2 separate regions of the Homo sapiens genome follow, and region 2 is linked to region 1. Evidence: promoter capture Hi-C in 16 types of primary human blood cells and fetal thymus (Javierre and others, 2016). All regions are on one chromosome and are shown on one strand. Each heading gives the region's core, a stretch centred on a gene start or on the middle of the fragment in contact. The rest is flanking DNA. Distances are from core to core; before and after follow the strand shown.

Region 1 (3,199 bases), core at 261-2,760:
CGAGTTCATCCACACGAAGGATAAATTCACTGCTGATCGCTTTATCTTTAATCGATAGAAGACCGGGGCCGCCGACAAGTCACGAATTTCCAATTCCAGGCCGTGGCCGGGATCGCCATTCACCGGCGGCGGCGGCGGCGGCGTCGCGCAGGGGCTGGAAGGACCCGGGCTCCAAGCGCGCAGGGCCGGGACCGGGGGCCGCGAGTTTCCGACGCGCATCGCAGACCCGCCGCGCACCCTCGCCCCCGCGTCCGCTCTCCACCTGCGAACCTACGCTGTCCGGGGGCTCCGCCTTCTCGCCGGCGCCCACCTCGCCCAGCTATCTCTCCTCCAGGCCCCTCCCCGGGTTCCCAGGTCCAGCCTGCTCCGAAGCCTCGGGCACCGCACACGCCGCGCGCTGAGGGAGGGCCGGGCGGGGAGAGGCGTCCAGTCCAGCCCAGCCCAGCCCAGCCCAGCCCAGCCCCACCTGGGCGCGCAGGCAGAGGAGCCCGCGTCCGCCGCCCCCCAGCCCTCCGCGCAGGGCTGTAATAATTACATCCTCATTATTTCTCCTGCAATCGTTAGCGAAGGAGCCGGAGACAGCAACAGCCGCTGCCGGGGGAGGCTTAGTTACAAAACCCTGCGCTGGGTAGCGCCTCGCTTAGCAACCACCCCTAAAAAAGACCCCGAGCTCCTCGCTCGCACTTGGAGAGCCGGGCGGCGGCCACCCCCTCGCTGCGCGCACCCTCCACTCCGCCTGGTCTCGGCAGCCGCTGCTGCCCGGCACAAGGGCCCCATCCTGGTCGCCCCCGCCCCCGCGAGCCCCCGTGCGCGCAGCCCAGCCCGGCACCCTTCATTCATTCCCAGTCCCCGTCGGCGTTTCCACCCGGGCTTGGGGGGAGGGGGATGCAGTCTGCTGCCCGCCGCCCCCACTCGCTCGCAGCTGCCCCACCGGAGCTAGGCGCGTAGCCCCTGGCGCGCCGGCACCCCCCAGGCTTTGCCCCCTCCACCCCGGGCAGGCAGAGCGGAGAATTTCACACCTCCGCGGCCCCGTGCGCTCCCGCACCCCCGGAGCCCAGGGTCCCGGCACCCCCGAGCGCGGCCAGGGATGCGCGGAGCCCGGCGAGGAGCGCAACGCGCGACCCCCGAGCACAGGCTGTCCCTGGGGTCCCCAGCGCTCCGGCCCCGGCGGGCGGCACGACCCCCGCTCGCCCCCGCCCCCAACCCTGACGCCCTCGGGGCGTCCCCGCGGGTCCGACACACCGCGCCCTCCCCGCCTCGACGGCTCTCGGAGCCCCGCGCCCGGCTCCCGGCAGCCCCCGGCGGCTCGCACCTTCCTCAGCGCGGACATCCTCGGACGCTCCGGGCTCAGCAGGTGCGGGGCGACATGGCGAAGCGGCCCCTCCTCAGACCGACGGCTCCCGGGGCTCGCGGGTTGGGGTCAGTACGTCCGTCCGCGGTCCGTCCGTCCGTTCGCCGCCGCAGGCGCCGCGCGCTCAGACCGCGCTCGAGCCCGGCGCACGGTCGGTCTTCACGGCCGGCGCCTGCGCACTCGGCGCCCAGGGAGGCACCGGCGCACTGGGGGGCGGCCGGCGCGCGGCTGCATCTGGGGAAGGGCCCGGCTTGGGGAGCGCGCGGGCAGCCCGGCTCCAACTGTTGCGCGGGGCGCGCGGGTCACCCGGGGACTGTGCCGGGCTCCCGGCGGGAAAGCAGCGGCCTCCACCGCGGCGCGCGCAGGCGACGCTCACCGCGCCCGAAAGTTAGCGGGGGACCCGGTCACACCCGTCGCCCCCGGGCAGGGTCAGCCTTTCTGGACCGCTGTTAGAGACGCGCCGGCGCGTTTGTGCGCGGGACTCGCGCTCGGGTTCGAGTCGGCTCGGCGCCCAGGGGGGCTCGCGGGGCAGAGGGGACGCGGGGCGAGGGAGGCGCGGGCGCTTGCGAGGGTCTCACTGCGAGGTGCGGCCGCCGCTTGGGTGCTGGAGGCAGAACCTCCCCCGGTTTCCACTGGCGGGCTACGCTGAGGAAGGTGTGCGGCGGCGGCTTCGCGGGGACCCACCGGGGGGCGCCCCGAGAACCTGGGTCCGGACGCAAGGAGCGCCCTCGGAGGGGGCCCGCCGCCTGGGTTTGCTGTGAGTGGCGTATGGACGACAGAGCCGAGGAAAAGGGAAAATCGATCCGGAGAAGTGGTGTTGACAACCACAGCAGCCGGGAAGATCAGCCACCCTGGCCACGTGTGGACGGACCCTCGCCAGGATCATGGGTTTTCCCTTCCGGGATCGGAACGCGGGAGCTAGACGCGCTGGTATGGGGATCCCTGGGCGGTCACCGACCCTGGGCAAGTCTCTCAGCCCCAGTTTAACATAAACGCAGAAATGGATTTCTGCTTTCCACCTGCATGGCTACGGCATTTAAATGAGGTAAAAGATGCGAAAACAAACCGCATAGAAAGACGGATGGGAGTTAGAATGAAATCAGGTCATCCAAAATATTTGGAATGGACAAACCAATCTTTTCCAGAAATTCCAAGATCTTTAAACAAAAAACAGGCTCTGTAAGAATTCCCCGTATAATTGATCACCAAAATATTCATCAGTTGCAGTTTATTTTCAAGGCAGAGTGCTAAACGACGAGGGGGTAGAAAGGTGAATGGGAGAAAGAAGTCCGGCCGCTGTCCATTTCTTCTAAATGTTTCCCGAATCTATCAGTGGTCTCCACTGTCAAAAAAAAAAAAAAAAAAGGTGCATTCAGCGCCCAAACCTCAACTAGGGAGAGATTCCAGGCCAATTTATTTTCATTTCACAATTTACTTTCCCTTTGCTTTCCTCCCCTGCATTTCGTCCCCATCCCTTCACGTTTTTTAAAAATATATATATATATTATTTCATGCAACCGCAACAAGAAAATCACACAAATGTACTGACGGCCTCTCCTGTGTTCTCAGCGTGTGAGCAGCACAGAAAACCACGGTTGCCGCCCCATGAAGCCTTCAGTCTAGAGAGGGATCCGCCCAGAAGTTACCCAAGGAACAGACAATTACAAGTTATAATTCTCTGAAGGAAACATATGGAGTGTTATTGGTGAATGTGAAAAGGGCAACAAATACAGTTTGTGACATCAGAAAAGAACTTTTTGAGGACGTCGTTATTAAATCTCCCCCTGGGTTCTCCCACAAGCAGGTTTTGAGGTGTGGATTTGGGTGCAGGTAGTTCATTTGGGAGAT
Region 2 (3,633 bases), core at 1,128-3,627, 1.0 Mb before region 1:
GATCAGTGTGCTGGGAGCGGGTTGGGGAGTGTGTGTGTGTCAGGGAGTTGAGTCTAGATTAAAACAGCCAAAGACATGTGACAACTGCACTCACCATGTGAGCCGTGATTGGGGGCTTTTCCAACAGGCAGTGGTCAGACGCATCCTCAGGGACAACTGGGGACATTTCAATATGGACTGAGCATTCGGTAGTCTTAGTGACTTATTGCTGACTTTCTTTTTTTTTGAAATGACGTTTCCCTCTTATTGCCCAGGCTGGAGTGCAGTGGCGTGATCTCGGCTCACCGCAACCTCTGCCTCCCGGGTTCAAGCGATTGTACTGCCTCAGCCTCCCAAGTAGCTGGGATTACAGGCACGCGCCACCAAGCCTGGCTAATTTTGTATTTTTGTTTCTTTTAGTAGAGATGGGGTGTCTCCATGTTGGTCAGGGTGGTCTCGAACTCCTGACCTCAGGTGATCCGCCCACCTCCGCCTCCCAAAGTGCTGGGATTACAGGTGTGAGCTACCGTGCCCAGCCAAAAGTTTATGTTTTTAAGAGAAATGTGCTGAAGCACTGGGCTCGAGTGACAGTATGGTGGTTTATTCTGAAAGGGCTCAGCTGTGTGTGCAAGAGTGTATGTGAGTGTGTGTGTATGTCAGCATATGTGTGTGAGTATGTATGTGTCTGTGTGAACGTGTACGTGTGTGTATGTGTATGTGTGTGAGGATGGTGTGTATGTGTATGTGCTGAAGTAAATATGACTGAACAATAAGAATCGTCGATCTGGTTGTTTGGTACATGAGTATTCATCTTATTTCTTTTTCACTTTTTCTGTGCATTTGAAAGCTTTCATAGGAAGTCAGAAAATGTATCTGGTTGTTAAAACAATATTGTAACGTACACACACAGTCCATTTCCAGTCCCAGAATTGAGACAGTTAGTGCAGAGGCCACTGGCTCAGCTGTGGAAACCAGACTGCACGGTCCATCTGCACCCATGCTGTCTGTGAGCCCTGGGAATGTCGCTTCCTGTCTCTGGGCCTCAGTTTCCTTCTCTATAAAATGGGCTGATGCTGTTCCTGCCACAGAGGCTGGTGGGATTCAGGCCACATACCCCGGCACATCAGCGTTCCGTTGTTACACATTTGAATACTCCCAAGCCAGTTGGTAAACAGTTGACTCTCCGGGACCCCTTGCACGTTTCCACGACTCAGCAATCAACGTGGAGCTGAACTGGCTGTGAAGCGTTTTGAGCACTGCCCGTGTTTGTCTCACAGCCCTCACGGGAATCCCGGTTAATATACTCAATGAGCGGAGCCCTGAAAACCCCGCCTGCCACCTCGTAAGTGTTCTATAAGCGTTTGCCATTTTAGTAAGTCCTTGTATTTTTATCCAATCTTTGTTTTATGTTACAAAGATAGATGGAAGGTTAACGTTGAAGTAATTAACTTCTTAATGGAAGTGTAGAATTACAAAGTAATTGAAAAGAAGAATAGATGAGATCTGTGAGAGTTTCTTGTCTTTCTGCCTCATGCTAAAATGTAAGCTCTTGTTGTAAACGAAAGCCTGCGTGCAAATGGTTTGCAGGCTGATTAGCGAATCTGGGGCACGGAGCTATCCAGGAGCTCTCACTGTAGATTTAACATCCACGCATTTTATGTAGCTTCTTGATGCTGATGTTGGTAAGAGACGCTAAATTGTCATGGGCATTATGTGGAAAACCCGTAGATGATTTCTGGAGCACAAAAGCCTGACCTGGAATTGGGGCAGAGCTGGGGAAGGTAGGGGGAATGATTCATTTTTGCAGCAAGGGGGATGTGGGGGGCTCAGGCCAGGGCAGGGTGGGGCTGCTGGAAACAAGATAAAGAGAAGGACATAGATATAATGGCAAGGACTCCTTAGCTGTGGGCTAATCGGTGAGCTCAATTATGTCGGGCAAGTTTAAAGAATTTAAACATTAAACCATATGTTCCATACATAAAATAATTTTTGAGGGCCAGGGAACTTCCAGCCAGACACCGACCTCGGGTTGTTCATCACCATAGTGGCTGGTGGGGTACCATTCACGTGGGAGGTCGGAGGAGTGAGCAAGCGGGTTAGGCTGTGTCAGCCTTCCTGACAGGTGCTCAAGGACATCCGCTGTGTGCCTAGGTGCAGCTGTGTCACTGGGATGGACACAGGAAGCAATGTGGGGTCTTTGCTGCCAGTGAGCTCCCGGTCTAGGAGAAGAGAGAGGAAGCATCTTTATCTGTGTTATCCCAGGTACGCGTGCCAATTATATGTCTGTATCCTTATCTGTGTCTACATATACACCTACATCTACATCTACAGTCATATCAATATCTATACCCATACCCATATCTCTATATTTCTACATCTATACCCATATCACAGCTGTGTCTATATCTGTTAAGTCATTCTTGCATTGCTATAAAGAAATACCTGAGACTGGGTCATTTACAAAGAAAAGAGGTGGAATTGGCTAACGGTTCTGCAGGCTGCGCAAACATCGTACCAGCATCTGCTCCGCTTCTGGGGAGGCCTCTGGGAGCTTTTGCTCATGGCGGAAGGTGAAGCAGGAGCAGGTGTGTCACATGGACAGAGCTGAAGTCAGAGAGAGAGAGAGTGGGTTGGGGGAGCTGCCACACACTTAAACACCCAGACCTCCTGAGAACTCACTCACCATTGTGAGGACAGCACAAAGCCACGAGGGATCTTCACCCACGAACTAAACCCCTCCCGCCAGACCCCATCTCCAACACTGGAGATTACAACTCAACATGAGACTTGGGTGGGGACAAATATCTAAACTATATTACTATATCTATATCTATATACATCTATGTCCATAGCTACATCTATGTCCACATCTGTATCTGTAATCTGTGTGTTCAGATAGATACACATGTCTTTTTACAAAGAAAATAAAGCCAGGTTGCAGTGGCTCACACTGGTAATCCCAGCACTTTGGGAGGCTGAGGCAGGTGGATCACCTGAGGTCAGGAGTTCGAGTCCAGCCTGGCCAACATGGTGAAACCCTGTCTCTATTAAAAATACAAAAAAAAAAATAGCTGGGCATGGTGGCGGGTGCCTGTACTCCCAGCTACTCAGGAGGCTGAGGCAGGAGAATCGCTTGAACCCAGCAGGCAGAGGCTGCAGTGAGCTGAGATCATGCCACTCCACTCCAGCCTGGGCGACAGAGTGAGACTCCCTCTCAAAAATAAATAAATGAAAAGAAAATAAGCTCAGAGAAATCAGGTGGTGCCACCATCAATAAGCATCAGAACTGGAATGCAAACGTGGGCTTTGGTGCCTTCAAAGTCAGAACTGTGTTCACCCCTCTCGCTTTAGGGTCTGTATCAGTTTGTTAGGGCTGCCATAACAAAGTGCCACAAACAATAGGACGGTCTTCTCTCCCAAGCCAGAAGTCGGAGATCCCGGTGTCCGCAGGGTTGAGCTCCCCTGAAGGCTCCAGGGGAGGGTCTGTCCCAGCTGGGCCTGGATCTGGCCTCCGGTGGCCCCTCGGCTGGGTGGCCCCTGGGCTGAGTGGCTCCTCGGCTCGGTGGTGGAGCTCCAGTCCTCACGTGGTGTCCTTCCTCTGTGTGTGTCTCTCTGTGTCCCAGTTTCCCCTTTTTATAAGAACACTGACTGTAT

The links. The method cuts DNA at HindIII sites, captures the fragments that hold promoters and counts their contacts. A CHiCAGO score of 5 or more calls a contact.
Region 2: a contact is called between a fragment that was not itself captured here and the fragment with the promoter of DLGAP2 in region 1, in 1 of 17 cell types (neutrophils). The highest score is 6.3, in neutrophils.

What each region holds. Positions count from the first base shown.
Region 1 is chr8:735,939-739,137 of GRCh38, reverse strand. It overlaps DLGAP2 (DLG associated protein 2), which reads right to left and starts at 1,510. Exons shown (of 15, transcript NM_001346810.2): 1 at 1,313-1,510. The coding sequence starts at 1,330. LOC124902044 (a long non-coding RNA gene) reads left to right here and starts at 2,108. Exons shown (of 2, transcript XR_007061156.1): 1 at 2,108-2,281; 2 at 2,921-3,104. LOC401442 (a long non-coding RNA gene) reads right to left here and starts at 590. Exons shown (of 1, transcript NR_134292.1): 1 at 1-590. The HindIII fragment of the contact is 4,533 bases long and covers 1-3,199 here.
Region 2 is chr8:1,746,902-1,750,534 of GRCh38, reverse strand. It overlaps LOC105377778 (a long non-coding RNA gene), which reads left to right. Exons shown (of 4, transcript XR_007060784.1): 3 at 2,131-2,241. Among named protein-coding and RNA genes, the nearest start is that of CLN8, 15 kb to the left of the region's middle. The HindIII fragment of the contact is 3,097 bases long and covers 829-3,633 here.